Linked DNA regions of Homo sapiens: region 1 is linked to region 2. Evidence: promoter capture Hi-C in 16 types of primary human blood cells and fetal thymus (Javierre and others, 2016). All regions are on one chromosome and are shown on one strand. The core of a region is centred on a gene start or on the middle of the fragment in contact, and the rest is flanking DNA. Distances in the headings are between cores, read along the strand shown. Region 1 overlaps LINC01317 (long intergenic non-protein coding RNA 1317). Region 2 holds the start of CRIM1 (cysteine rich transmembrane BMP regulator 1).

The links. The method cuts DNA at HindIII sites, captures the fragments that hold promoters and counts their contacts. A CHiCAGO score of 5 or more calls a contact.
Region 1: a contact is called between a fragment that was not itself captured here and the fragment with the promoter of CRIM1 in region 2, in 7 of 17 cell types (total CD4 T cells, naive CD8 T cells, non-activated CD4 T cells and 4 more). The highest score is 12.6, in total CD4 T cells.

Annotation. Positions count from the first base shown.
Region 1 is chr2:34,096,545-34,104,108 of GRCh38, reverse strand. All of the region lies in intron 4 of LINC01317 (long intergenic non-protein coding RNA 1317), which reads right to left. Among named protein-coding and RNA genes, the nearest start is that of LINC01318, 33 kb to the right of the region's middle. The HindIII fragment of the contact is 2,859 bases long and covers 359-3,217 here.
Region 2 is chr2:36,349,656-36,357,027 of GRCh38, reverse strand. It overlaps CRIM1 (cysteine rich transmembrane BMP regulator 1), which reads right to left and starts at 1,250. Exons shown (of 17, transcript NM_016441.3): 1 at 405-1,250. The coding sequence starts at 735. It overlaps CRIM1-DT (CRIM1 divergent transcript), which reads left to right and starts at 1,458. Exons shown (of 2, transcript NR_037631.1): 1 at 1,458-1,940; 2 at 2,047-2,279. The HindIII fragment of the contact is 11,087 bases long and covers 1-6,193 here.

The DNA.
Region 1 (7,564 bases), core at 539-3,038, 2.3 Mb after region 2:
AGTATATCTCAGGGAAATAAAATCTTTAAAGTATTTATCAACTATTGCTGACGCATGTTTCAGAGATTGGTTGAGTACTTACCTTTTCTTTAAGGAGAAAATTCCAGAAGGCACAATTTTAATCAAAATCTCACAAGGCGGCACATACCCAGTCAGGATCCAAATGATGGAGTCAGAACATTAATAAAGCTTGGGAACAGTTTCTTTTTAGGAGCTGGAGGTGGTCATTTCATCTCAAAAGGCAGACGGTATTCTGGTCTGACATCCAGCTCAACTAGCACTCATCATTCTCAACCTCAGTGGCCCTAGTTAATAAAAGTATTGATGTGTCCCTGCCTAACCTACAATATTCAAAGCTTCACTTGAAGACTTGAATAGGCTCTTAATTTTTCTCCAAGAACTTCTACAGGGCCCTTTCTTGAAATCTATGTTTTCATAACAAAAGTGAAAATGTGCTGTCAGCAATTTTGTTTTTGAGGGTTCTATACATGAGAGTGCACGTTAAGTAGTGCCAAGGGCCCAGACCTTGTATGTGATAGGCTACATGACTGCCTGTAGACGTTTTATTCTCTTGAACCCCAGCATCTGCATTTGCAAAATAGGATTCAGATTCTCTCTCTTCTAGGAACAGCTAAACATTAAGAAGAGATGTTGTGCACTGTTCCATTTGTAACGAGTGCTCAATCAACGTTTATTCTCCCAATTCACCCACCCCAATTAGAAGAACTCTGCCTAGAACAAATAATTACAACCCTTGTTATTAAATGCCTTGCTAATCTATCTAGCATTCCTCAAAGTGTATTTCAGCAACTTTATTTTCTTGGATTACAATTAGATGTCCACAGAGCCACTGAGGAGGGTAAAAGTAGTGTCTATGGACAAGTTAGCTGAGAAATACCTGTTTTTATGAAGGCTTAGAGTTTTTTAATTGCTAATTTAAATTGTGATCCTTTGGTGGGGTGTAGGTTCAGTGCAAAGCATGCTACCTTTCCCAACATTCTATGCAACAGGAACTGGTATGGTTTGGATCTGTGTCCCCACCAAATCTCATGTCAAATCATAATTCCCTACTGTTGGAGGCGGGGCCTGGTGGGAGGTGATTGGATCATGGGGGTGGAGTTCTCATGAACGGTTTAGCACCACTGCCTTCTTGGTACTATATAGTGATAAAGTTCTCGCGAGATCTGGTTGTTTAAAAATGTGTTAGTACTTCCGCCACCCCCAGTCCTGCACCTGCCATGTAATATGCCTGATCCTGCTTTGCCTTCTGTCATGAGTAAAACTCCCTGAGGCCTCCCCAGAAGCAGATGCTGCCATGCTTCCTGTACACCTTGTGGAACCATGAGCCAATTAAACCTCTTTTCTTTATAAATTAACCAGTCTCGGGTATTTCTTTATAGCAGTGTAAGAATGAACTAATACAGAAACCTTCTTGTCAGTAACTCCTATTAATAACCCAAGGAACTAACAATGTTTTTTGGAAAACAATGTGGCAAGACCAAATGAGTCCTGAGAACTATGGGAAATTATTGTTGTCTCAAAAGATAAGAATGCTTTTTTGGTATTGTTTCTATGCATGGGATTACTCATAAGCACCACGGGAATGAAATACCTTCAGCAACTCACTGCAGAGCTATTGGGTAATTTTATTTTGTTTAGCCTTTGGATGACAAAAAGCAAGTTGTTCACTCTTGTGAACAATACAGTGAATAATTACAGTACTTGCTACTGACAAATGAGCATGATTTCTAAAGGTACAGTGGTCACTTTAGTCAGAAATATAATTATCTAGACAAAAGCGATTTGATGTTTTTATACTTTTAATAGTTTAAAAGCAAGTTTGGGAGAGCTCAAGGTCATGGTAATTCTAATTGTGTATGTGCTGGTTCAGATACATATAAGCAACCATTCTGAAAAGGCAATTTGGTTTAACAAATATCTGCTGCATACTTGCTATATAAAAGGTACTAGTTAGTAAACTAATAATGGTAATAGAAGATATGCATTACTTTGGACGAAAAATTATAATGAATCTATATTGTGAACTTATGTATGTTGCAAAAGGTTATGCTGGCTTTTCAGGTAATCATTCACTCTGAGCTTCTGCCACCTCTGGGATTTCCACAAGCTGCAACATTTTAGTTTCAACTCAGCTTAGCAATGCCATTGCAAAAACCATTTCAACTAGCGTTCAGATAGAATGGAGTATGCGTCCATTGCCAAATCAACTCACTCAGCATGTGCTCTCGCGATTCAGTTCTAGAGCAGCTGTGGTCTACTCTGGAGGAAGGGTAAATGAGATCACTTAGATTGAAGTAGCTTCCAATCTACATACTTAAATGAGAAACATACAAATTAACCATGCCCAGATGATCCCAAGTATGTTCAGGATTCAGGAGGTTGAAGCCAACTCACCTTGGTAGGTAATTACCGTCTTTCTGGTAGGCAGAATCGTAAGGTAGATCTCAAGATTCCCACCCCCATTGCACATGCTCTGTATAATCTTCTCTCCCTGAATATGAGTAGGTCCGTGAATATGAGGGATCTTACTCCCATGATTAGGTTAAATTAGCTGACAAAGCTGAAGGGATTTTGCAGATTTAAGTAAAGTGCCAAGTAAATCAACATTGAGTTAATCAAAAGGGAGATTATCCTAGGTAAACCTGACCTAACCAGGTGATCCCATAAAAGGGACTGGACCCTTCTGGAAGAAAGAGCTTTGAACCCACAGAGATTCTCCTGACAGCCTTAGGAAAGCAAATAGTCATGTTATGGAGAGGACCAGATGGCAGGTAAATTCTTTTCACAACCATTTCTGGCAGTATCCTTCCTGTCCGTGGGTTTAATGCATTCTCATCAACACACATGATGTATCCATCAGGGCCCAGGCAAGAGACAGAAACCACATCAGTTATTTGAACAGGGAAAATTTAATACAAAGATGCCTTAACTAGATAAGTAGTTGATAACTAGAAAAATCAAAGAATAAAAAGAGATCTCTAAAGTATAATGAGAATAGTACCTGCAAGAGGCAGCTATCACTCCAAAAGCCAGGGAACAAAAGGAAGAGATTGGAAGTATTAAAACCTACAAGGGATCCTGTGAAGCTGAAACTCAGCCATTTGAGGAAAGACTGCTGGCCTGCTGGTGTCTCTGAGCTTGGAGGAGGGCACCATAGAACTTAGACCCAGATTTTTAAGAACAAGACAAAGAAGCTTTTTCTTCAGGTGCTGGAAACTTCAATCTGGGTTCAGCTGCTTCTATAGGAAGGTGCTGCTGTAGCTGGGGCAAAAAAAAGTAAGGCTGAAGTGACACCCCCAAGAACAGCAAGCAGACAGGAAGTTCACAGGAAGCAAAGATGAACGAGAAAATCTCTTTTCTCCTACAGCTCTGAAGTCTCCCTCTGGTATCTCCTGTTGGCAGAGCCTAACATGGACCCAGCTGGAAGCAGACATGGTTTCAGAGTTGCTCTCCAGCAACTCGAGGTGAATTTACAAGGGTGAATGTGGAGCCAAGAAAAAATAACTTAGTAGCTGACACACATGGTTTATATTATTTTTTCTATCCCTTATTCTGTCTCCCAGAATGTCTTCTAAACTTTCTGATACCTGAAAATCCACAATAAAGTTTCTCCCACATGATACGAAGCTCACACAGAGTCCATGAAGCTGCTGTAGAACACACGCTGCCATAACCAAAGCCGCTGTCTCCTTGATCTGCTACCACTAAATTCCCAAAGAATCCAAGGGCTGAAAGCCCCAGCCACTATGCCTGAGCCCTCCAGACCCAGAAACCACTCTGTGGATTCAGCTGAAATGAAGGAACAGACACCTACTTCCGTGTTACACTTGGTTGCAGAGTTTGCCTCGTGCTCCCACTGTCTGAGAGAGAGCATGGAAACACTAACCCATTTTTGCTTGCAGCTTTCTATCACTAGGACCAGAATTCATTGTACTTGTCAGAGAATTATCAAGAAACAGATGCTATTATGAGACTTTATCCTTGGTTAATACTTGTGCACTCTGGCTTTCTTTCCCCTTACGGTGAATTATCTAATTGTTTAAAGCAAACCATGCCAAGATGCTACTAGTTATGCGCATCCTTAGATTTAGCCTGGTTTCAAAACCTATGCTACCTGGGATAATATACTATACAATGTGTAAAGAGCATTTTATGAGGCAAAATAGTTACATAATTATGAGCAGACTCTAGAGCCTGGCTGCTTGCATCCAAATCTTGACTCCATTTGTAACCTTAAGCAAGTTAGTCATTGTCTCAGCCTGTTCAGGTTACTACAACAAAATCTTATAAACTGCATGGCATATAAACAACAGAAACTTATTTCTCTCAATTCTGCAGACTGGGAAGTTCAAGATCAAGGTACAAGTAAATTCAGAGTCTGGTAAGGGGCCCCTTCCTTGTTCATAGATAGTGCCCTCTTGCTGTTTCCTCACATGCTGGAAGTGGGTGAGAGGTCTCTGTTGGTTCTCTTTATAAAGGCACTAATCCCATTCATGAAGGCTTTGCCTCATGACCCTAATCACCTCCCAAATCCCCTATGGCCTAATACTATTGTCGTGGGCTTTAGGATTTCAACACAAGAATATGCAAGGGAGGGACGCAAACATTCAGACTATAGCAATTATTCTTTCTAGGTTTTGGGTTCCTCATCTCTATAATGAGGGTGATAGCAGTAGTACCTGCTACATAAGATTGTAGTGAGGATAAAATATGTCAATGTAGGCAGAGCACTTGGAGGAGCGGCTGCCACAGTAAGTGCTTCATAAATGGAAACTGTTATTTTGCATTCCTGTCATTTTGAAAATGTAACCAGATATCATGTTGTCATACCAGGATAATTCTCACTTCAGCACCAAGATCTCTATTTCATCCACCTGAAATCTAAATTTTGGAGTTCCTCAGAGCTCTGTGATGGATTTTCATTTTTTCCCCTGGTCATTTTCTTTTCTAAATGATCTTATGCTTTACTCTGACTATATATCATTTAAGTGTCATCAACTCCAAAATTTATTTCTCACACAGATCATTGTTCTCATCTTTAAACATACACATGTCCCATTACCTACCTGAAATATCCACTTTGATGGCTTATAGGTATCTGAAGCATAACGTGCCCACAGTTGAATACTTAGTAGTCCATCTCTCCTCGAATCTTTTTCTCCTAAGTTTTTTCCTTTCCGGTAAATTGTGTTGTAGTTCATCCAAGTGCTCAATCTAGAAATCTGGGAGTCATTCAGGATTTATTTCTCTCCATTAACATCCCGCACTCAATTGATTAATATTTTCTGCCACTTTTTTCCTCCAAACTATAACTCAATCCAATCATTTCTCTTCCCATACCATCATCATTTCTTACATAGACTATTGCTTCTATTCTTTCTGCTACCACAATTATTCTCCACGAATCAGCCAGAAAGATCATTTTAATGTGTGGATCAGATCATGAGGTCCTTCTTCTTAAACCCTGTGATGGCTTCCCATTGCACTGAAAATAAAATTTCTGCTTCTGATATGTGGCTCCCAGTGGATTCTTGTGATGTGACTCCTTCTTTACTCTGCAATCTTTTAAGTCTTCCTGGACATCTTCAGTTCCTTTTACCTCCGAGGCCTCTCCTGCCTGTGGGTCTTCATGCATGCAGTTCCCTCTCCGTGGGATGCTTTTTCCACTTCCTGTAGCTGGCTCAATCTCACCCTGAGGTCTTAGCATAAGAGTCAACTGCTTGGAAAAATCTTTTCTGACCACTGTGTCTAAAGTGGGTTCCTTCACCTACCATGTCATTCCTGCTCTATTATTCTCTACCATGGCACTTAATTCACTTTAAAGCATGTGTAGCAATCAGTACAGCTTGATACTTTTATATGCCATTGTCTGTATTCCCACACAAGACAGTTCTATATCCTTTTGTCCCCTACTAACCTATGTTCTGCTACTAGCACAGCGCCAATCTCACAATACACATTGAAAAAAAAAAAATTGTTGAATGAATAAACATACTATGGCCCTTCTCCATGAATGTTTTGGTGAAAACAACAGAATACCCAGAGAGAAAGTGGATACAGTCAAATTCCTCCTGTGATGGTTAATATTGAGTGTCAACTTGATTGAAGGATGCAAAGTATTGTTCCTGGGTGTCTGTGAGGGTGTTGCCAAAGTAGATTAACATTTGAGTCAGTGGACTAGGAGAGGCAAACCCACTCTGAATCTGAGTGGGCACCATCTAATCAGCTGCCAGCACAGCTAGGATGAAAGCAGGCAGAGGAACGTGGAAGGACAAGACTGGCTAAGTCTTCTGGCCTCCATTTTTCTCCCATGCTGGATGCTTCCTGCCCTCAAACATCAAACTCCAAATTCTTCAGCTTTTGGACTCTTGGACTTACACCAGTGATTTGCCAAGGGCTCTTGGGCCTTCAGCCACAGACTGAAGGCTGCACTATCAGCTTCCCTACTTTTGAGGTTTTGGGACTCGGACTGGCTTCCTGTCCCCTCAACTTGCAGGCAGCCTGTTGTGGGACTTCACCTTGTGATCGTGTGAGTCAAATCTCCTAATAAACTCCCCTTCATATATTTACCTGTCCTATTGGTTCTGTCTCTTTAGAGAATTCTGACTAATGCACCTTATAATTAAATGGTACAGCGACATGTTTAGAATATTAGTGTCATAAAGTTTAAAATTCATATTTCCCTACTTTCAATTCCAAATACATCCAGATTACTGATAAGCTTAACCCTGAGTCTTAATATCTGATGTAATTTCCTATCACCATACCCAGTAGCTGTTGCATCTTGAGACCTCCTCTTTTTGGGACTAGTCATACCTGCTGGTTCAAATTATACCAGATAAATTTCTAATACTTACAGCAAAGGCACAAAATTATATTTCTGGATTAATCAATAGTCACATCTTCTGGTATGATTGTGAAGAACGATTCGACATCCTAAAATGATTGTTCCCAATATTCTATGCCAAATACATTTCTCTTTTATCCCATATACAGACTATGACTCATGCTACCATGTTTAACCTTCATCTTCCTCCTTTACTGAGGTAGGTCTACCAGTAAATATCTTGAAAAAGGTAGGAAGTACAATATTTAAGAGTGTAAAGTTTTAAGTCTATGTGTACCATACTTATTTATACCCAGGTCAAGAACAAAGTGGGATATACACAAAGATTGTTTTATGGTGAGATATGTTTAAAATGCCTACCTAGAAGCATCTCCCCCAGTAATATTCCATGCAGCCTCTCTTCTTCAATACAACCATGCCTCAAATACTTCTATTGAAAATAAAAGTTCACTGTGGTCTACACTGCCCTCTAGCGGCCATTCTCTATCTTTCTCCTCCCTACCTAAGCCAAATGTTTAGGAAAGAGTTGTGTCCACTTCCATACATTCTACCCTGTCATCAAAATACTGCCCTTCTGAACCAGCAGAAGTCCAATGACTAACTGATGTGGAATATAAAGACCTGGACCCTCATTCCAACTTGAGGCAACTCTAAAGGCTCATCTAAGTATCATGGTTCCCAGTAGGTCAGCTGAGG
Region 2 (7,372 bases), core at 1-2,500:
GTGCGGGGAGGGCGGTAGGGCCGGGCTCCCCGAGGGGCTCGCGCGCGGCAGAATCTGCAGTGCCCCCCGCCCGCGGCGCCCCCACCTCGGGGAGCAAGGCCGGGCCACCCAGTCCCAGCAGGAACGGCCACACGTGTGCGCGTCTGCGCGGGGACAGGGGCGATCCTCCACTCGCTCGCCCCCACCCACCATACCCAACCTCGCCCGCGACTGCCTAAGCGTCGGGGGGAACAAGGAGAGGGAACGCAGGGCCGCGGGGGCACTCTCCTGGGGGCGGCGGCCGCCCCTCTTCCCGCAGAGCCCTCTTTCCTCCAGAAAGTCTCGCCCAAACTTTGTTCGGCACAACCAGCGCCGAGGGGGCGGCGCAGGCCAGGTGGGAGGGGGCCCGCAGCGGGCGGCCGTACCTTCGCAAACGCCCGCTTCGTACTCGGTGAGGGAGTCGCCATTGAGCGGGGGGCGGATGACACAACGCAGCCCCCGGTCGCAGGTTCCGTAAATCCCGAAGGTGCCGCCGCAGCTCTCGTTCCTCTGGCTGGCGCACGTGTAGCAGCAGCCGCAGACGCCCTGCACGATGCTCCCCGGGCAGTTCCTGGGCTCCTCGCACTTGGACTCGTCACAGGGCAGGCAGACCAGCGCCCGGGTGCCGGAGCGCGCCAGCAGCAGCAGCAGCCCCAGCAGCGAGACCAGGAGGTGCCCGCAGCCGGCCAACCCCCTGTCCCCCGCCACCAAGTACATCCTCCTGCGCCGCCGCCGCCTCCTCCTCGCAGCCGGGCCGGGAGCGGGGCGGGCGCCCTCCCCTGCGCGGGGCACACGCGCCGCCGCCGCCGCACCAGCAGCCCGCGGTCCTCACCGCCCCTCTCGGGGCCCCCGGGGCGCGCCTCCCCTCGCGGGGCGAGGCCCCCGCCCCTTCTGCGGGCCGCGCCGACCCCGAGCCCACGAGCCTTGGCGCCGGCGGCAGCTTCCCCTCCTCCTCCTCCTCCTCCTCCCGGGAGGGAGGGGGAAAAAAGAAAAAAGTTTCCTCCCGGCAGCTCCGGTTCAACCCAAACTTCTGGCGCGGCGGCGGCGGTGGCTGCTGCGCTCGGCTCCAGCCCGGGCCGGCGGCGCCTCCTCCCTCTCCTCCTCCGAGTCGGCCGGCCCCGCAGCGGCGCAGCCTCCGGGCCGGTCCCCGCCTCCCGAGCTGCCGAGTGGGCGCGGTGGCGCAGCACAAGATCCGCGGCGTCCGCTCCGCGCGCCCCGCTCGCCTCACTCCTGCGCCGCTCCTCCGGGCGCTTGTTTATGGCTGGAGCCTCAGCCGCTCGGGCTGCGCCCTCCCCCATCCTACCTCCTCCCCCAGACCTTCCCCCCACCCCCACGCGCCGCGCGCCGCTCATTGGCTGCCCCCCCTCCCCGGCCCGGCCGGCCCCCTCCGCCTCCCCCTCCCCCTCTCGGGCGGCCGGGCCCTTCCTCCCTCCCTCACACGCCTCCACCTCTTCCCGATCTCCTCCTCCCCGAGCCCGGCGCACCGAGCCGGCCGTGCCACCGAGCTGCGGCTCTGGCCCCGGCGCCGCGGGTGCGCTGCGGATGGGCTTGGGGCGCACCCAGCGAGCAGCGAGAGTCGCGGTGTCCCGGGCGCTCGCTGGCACCGTGGCCGCAGCGGCCGGCCTGGGAGCCAGGAGGGCGAGGCGGCTGCACCTTCGGGGCCAGATTGGAGTTCGAAGAGTGGCGGGTACCCCAGAAGCTCGGGGCCGGGGCGATGGCTGCAGCCTCGGGAGGGTATCGCCGGATCGAACTCCGGGAAAGGGAAGCAAAGGCATGGAACCTCCGCACACTGGATGAGAATCCATCTTCCATTCGAGCTGGGAATAGACTTTGTGAAAGATATTATGTAATGGAGTCTCGGGAACCCTGAGACCTCTCCAGCGAAGCTGAAGTGAATTAATTAAGTGCTTTAAACGGTCTTGGTAAATATTCCGCGGGAGCTGGGGAGGACCGTTGGGATGGCTGTAGCTTGAGTTGAATTTTAACTGTCCTCATTCTGGGTTTTGTCGCTCTGCTTTCTGTGCCAAGGTGCTGTGTTACGGGAGAGAGTGACTGGAAAGTAACAAAGCTGAATCTTTCTCCCTGGAGTAAGGCCGAAGACTGGATTACTACACGCCTAGACGTGACACTACACCCATAGATCTCATGCATCATTAATGCCATATGACATTGCCATTTTCTTTCTCAGTTCACGGACAAAAGTGGTGGGTTTTCATTGTCTTCACTGATTGTCAATGCATTAATAAAGAAGATGTGTGGTACATAGTCTTTGTGATAAATCAGGTAAAGAAGCAACGGAAGTGATGCAAAATGCACGGTGTGGAGATGGTTTCTCTTCAGTGGTTGTCAGAAAAGGTTTTCGTAATGATGGCTCTGTCATTGATGGGATATGAAGTAGTAATCCGCTCCGTAGTGACCTACCATTCACAAGATGGGTACCAGGTGAATAACATTAATTAATTGACAAAAAGTGACTGTGGTCAATGGGGGAAAAAATCGATCCCGTGGCAGGTGTGACGTGGGAATGGCTGGCCCACCCTCTGATCCAAGATGGTCTGGCTGCAGGAAGGTGGCAGCCAAGTGGATTCTGAAAATCGTGACTAATGAACCGAAAGTTAATAGCTGGCAGTGCAAGGAAAGAGGAAACAAAGCTACCTTTGAAATGTTATGTTTGTGGAACAAATTCATACTTACGATAAATATTTTAGTTTAACCACTCTGTCTAATCCTGAACCCAAAAGCCAGAGTTACCAGTGGACTATTCCCCCATGATGGGCATCAGCAAACTAAACATTTCTCCTATCATATTTCTTTGTCCAAGGAGAGGAAGAGGCTCATTAATTATCATTGATTATTATAGGGCCATGAGGAAGATGTTCAACCGTGGAAAAGGGGAGAGAGCATTGCATTTTCTAGACGGGTTTAAAGAGTTGTTGCAATGAAATGATTCCTGTAGTTGGGTGGGAAGTCCGATTAGATGATCTCCAAAGGCCCTCATACCCTGTGGGTCCATAATAAGTGTTAAGTGGCAAAATCGTTTAAAATATGCTAGGTTTTCTATTAGAAAAACCGAAGAGACTGGGCGTGGTGGCTCATGCCTATAATCCCAGCACTTTGGGAGGCCAAGGTGGGCAGATCACTTGAGGTAAGGAATTCGAGACCAGCCTGGCCAACATGGTGAAACATGGTGAAACCCTGTCTCTATCAAAAATACAAAAATTAGCCGGGTGTGGTAGCGCATGCCTGTAATCCCAGCTACTCAGGAGGCTGAGGCAGGAGAATCACTTGAACCCAGGAGGTGAAGGTTGCAGTGAGCCGAGATTGCGTCATTGCACTCCAGCCTGGGCGACAGAGCAAGACTCTGTCTCAAAAACAAACAAACAAAAAAACTGAAGAAAAATAAAACACACATTGTTAAACATTGTTCTTTCTTGTCACCGAACAAGGCACCAGCACTTCAGTGTGGGATTTGCCAACAAACTGTCATCATTGCTCTGTGTTAAAAGGTCCCTCCCACTCTTGCAGAGGAGGTTATCTGTATTTCTGTTCAAATGCAAGTATAAAGACATTAAAATGTAGCAGATAACATTGTAGGACCTGCAGGAAAAGCCAAGGTCAGGTGATGAGAAAAAGGCAGAAGTGAGAAAGCTACTGTGGTTAGGAAAGAAGGAGGTAATAAGCATTGTCAAAGTTTAGCTTCTATTTATTTTTAAGGGGATATATTAAGGATTAAGGAAAGCTACAGATGAGCACAGGCAAAGGATAATTTGGAGATGACTATTCATTGTTCCTGGGACTTCAGAAGTAGAACCACCTGGAAGGTAGATGGACAGATACAACATGAGAAAGGTTGACTTCTCACAGGAATTCAAGTCAGGTTTAGAAAGGACTAGGGAGATTCTTTAAGATGAAGATGATTGTATCAGCTCAAAAAGAAAAAAAAAATCAAGTTACATTACACATGCCCTTTGGCATAAAATTAATAGTCATAGAAGCAATAGAGAAAATAGGATTCCTTGAAGCCAGTGACTAGTGGCGAATGAGAAACCTGCAAGGTCCTGGCAGCTTTTCTGAAACCAGTGTGTGAATCAGGAGCTCAGTTATGAAACAGCTCTTTCTTCTCTGGGATCCAGGAGGGATGATAATGAGGTAGTGAGAAGCTGAGGCAATGATACTGAGGCTCGAATACAAAAGTATTTTCTTATCTTCAAAGACCAGACTATGGTTACAGAAAGAGTTTGGGTGAGCCCAACATGATGACAATCAGGTGTCACGGGTGAAAGTGGACTAGGAAGAATTACCCTGAAATTGAATGGACCCTGAAAGTCATGAACGAATGTTAAGAATTAGAGCCACACATGAAAGGCCTCCCTTTCTGAGAAGCCTTCTTGAGCTTCTTTATCTGTTCTACAGCATTTGTAAGTACCTCTGCTTGTAGCATTTATCATGTTACATTATAGTTATTTAAATAACTCTGAACCCAATTAGCTTGTCAGCTTATTGGAGAGGGCAGGATTTATAAAAATGCATGCATGAATGAGTTGAAAAAGGGAGAGTGAAGAATTACAGTCAAAATGATATTTGAATATTATTGTCTGCAGCCCTTCTCTCTTGGTTTTAGTAAATACCTCAAAATCAGTACTTGAAAGGGATGGTATGGGCAGGAGGGAGTCATCGAAGTTTGGGGTGGGGGTGGTGGGGGGGTGGGGGAGGGGTTGGGGAACAGGTCTGCAACGAACCAGGAATTACGAAGTATTTCTGATGGAGGTCTAGAAGAAGAGATCGTCTGCCCTCTATTGGCCATCCTGGGGATTAATAAATTGTTGAAAATGTCGAAAATCAAAGTGCCCATTTGTTGGCCTAAGCAGAAAGTGGAAATGAGAGGGCAATAGACAGAATGTTAGTATTAGACCCCGCCTTTCCGATACAGTGTCTAGTCCACCTATAGTCACACTCTGTATTTTCTCTTCCTGAAATGAAAAGAAAAATGTAGAAGTTGCCTTTGAGTTTGGCTCACATACTCTTGGAATTGAGTTGCACTTTGTATTTTCTCTTCCTGAAATGAAAAGAAGAATGTAGAAGTTGCCTTTGAGTTTGACTCACATACTCTTGGAATTGAGTTGCACAAGAGAAGAAACCTCATTGTGTTATGAAAACGTTGCATACATATTAGAAAGTGGTACGAATAAACCAGGGTAGCAGGTCTGGCCCGTTTTACCCTCTTAGGCCATCTCTCTGGTCTCCTCAGCTGGGATCACCTATATATGGGTTCTCACTTAATCTAGGCTTGGCACTGCAGTGATATAGACAGACCCTAGTTTGGAGGCTCAACCATCTGGATGTTGGACTCTTAATCTGAAATTGAACTCTATTATCACCACGTAATACCTTATTTTTGCTAAGTGGGTTCTTATTTACTCTGCCTGTGAATGATAGCTGCTGCAGAACTACCACAAGGTTTACAAGACATCTGCACAGAACACAGGTTCTCTTTGATGTTTGGCCTAGGATCCTGACACACACACACACACACACACACTCTCTCTCTCTCTCTCTCTCTCTCTCTCTGTGTACAAGTTTAAACAAGGTATTTATCCTTTCTGAATCTGTCTTCTCTGTAAAACAGAGACAAGAATACCAACCATACAGGGTATCGTGTGGATAAAATGATTGCTCTCCTTTTCTATTGTTATTTTTAGAGTCCTTCTAATTGAGTGTCTCCTCAAGTTTTATGCTTGAGCTGGAATCCCTGCTCTCTGTTATCTTAGCATCCATTGCTGTGCAACATCTGCTGGATCAGATATTTGCTTTTTTTTTTTTCTTTCTTAGGATCTTCTGTTGGCCTTGTTTTGACAGTCTGTCTCATCTTGGGGTTTTAGCCTCTGTGATATTTTCTCAGACTCATTTTGGTCTCTGACTTATTTTAAAGAGCAGTAATTGGTAATGATAATAGTAATAGCTGACACTAATAAAGATCTTATTAATTGCTAGTCAACATGCTAAGTGCTTCATATAGGTTATTTTAAGTAATCTACGGAAGAGCGCTGTAAGACCAATGGTTTCTATTATCTCTAGTGCCTTACGTTGTCTTCATTTTTTACAGGTGAGGAATCTGAGTTATAGGAGGTTGTGTGGCTTGTCAAGGTCTCAGAGCTATGTGTATGGATATTAAGCTTAGAACTCAGTCCTATTCTGCCTTAAGGGCCTGTGTGTTTAACTACCTCAATTCAGTAAGTTGGGTAATGGTGAGCTGCTTTTCTTTTCAGTTTTGTTGTTTTTTGTGGACCTCATTTAAAATTGCTAACATCTATGACAATATCTTGTCTTCTTTGAGAAGTTTAAATACTGATCAGCGTTTTCTCAAAATGGAAATAAGATCATTGCTTTCCTAACTACTGAATAACAAATATTTATGTAACGTTTGCCATGTGCATATTTTTTAATTACCTTACAATATTACCACATTTAATCCTCCATAAAAGCTGATGAGGTAGGTACTGCATTTTACAGGTACATTTACACCTATTTAAAAGGAAAAATTGGGGTGGGTGCGGTGGCTCATGCCTGCAATCTCAGCACTTTGGGAGGCCAAACTGGGTGGATCGCTGGAGCCCAGGAGTTTGAGACCAGCTTAGGCAACATAAGGAGAACCCATATCTACAAAATAATAATAATAATGAACTAGCCAGGCATGGTGGGATGTGCCTGTATTCAGGAGGCTAAGGTGGCAGGATTGCATGAGCTTGTGAAGTTGAGGCTGAGGTGAGCCGAAATTACACCACTGCCTTCCAGGCTGGGTGACAGAGTGACACACTGTCTCTTACTTTTCCAGTAAAGGAAAAATTGGAATTCAAACCTAGGCAGTATGGGGACAGAATCCACTCTATGCAATATTACTTCTAATGTATGTTTTTTAACAAATACATGCTCACTGGGGGAAAAAAGAGAAAAGACAGACAAGTAAAAAAGAAAAAAAGAAGAAAGAAAAACATCACCTATAATGGTTTTATCTCAGGTGAGATAAAACCACTGATAACATTTGTGACACATCCTTGAAGGTTTATTTTCCCCATACAGTATAAAATATAAAATGGGATATGTATCTACCTCAAAATTGGCTTTAACTTTCACATATACATGGCATATTGATCTTTAGAATCAATAACTGCATCCTTTTTACCATTGATTGTTATTCCACTGAATGTACATATTGCATTATATTTAACTGATTCCATATTAACATAAGTTTAGGGGTTTTGTGTGCTTTACATTTTCACTATTATAAACAAAGCTGCAATATATTTCCTTTAAGCCAAATCTTCAAACACTTGTCCAATTATTTTCCTTGGCAAAT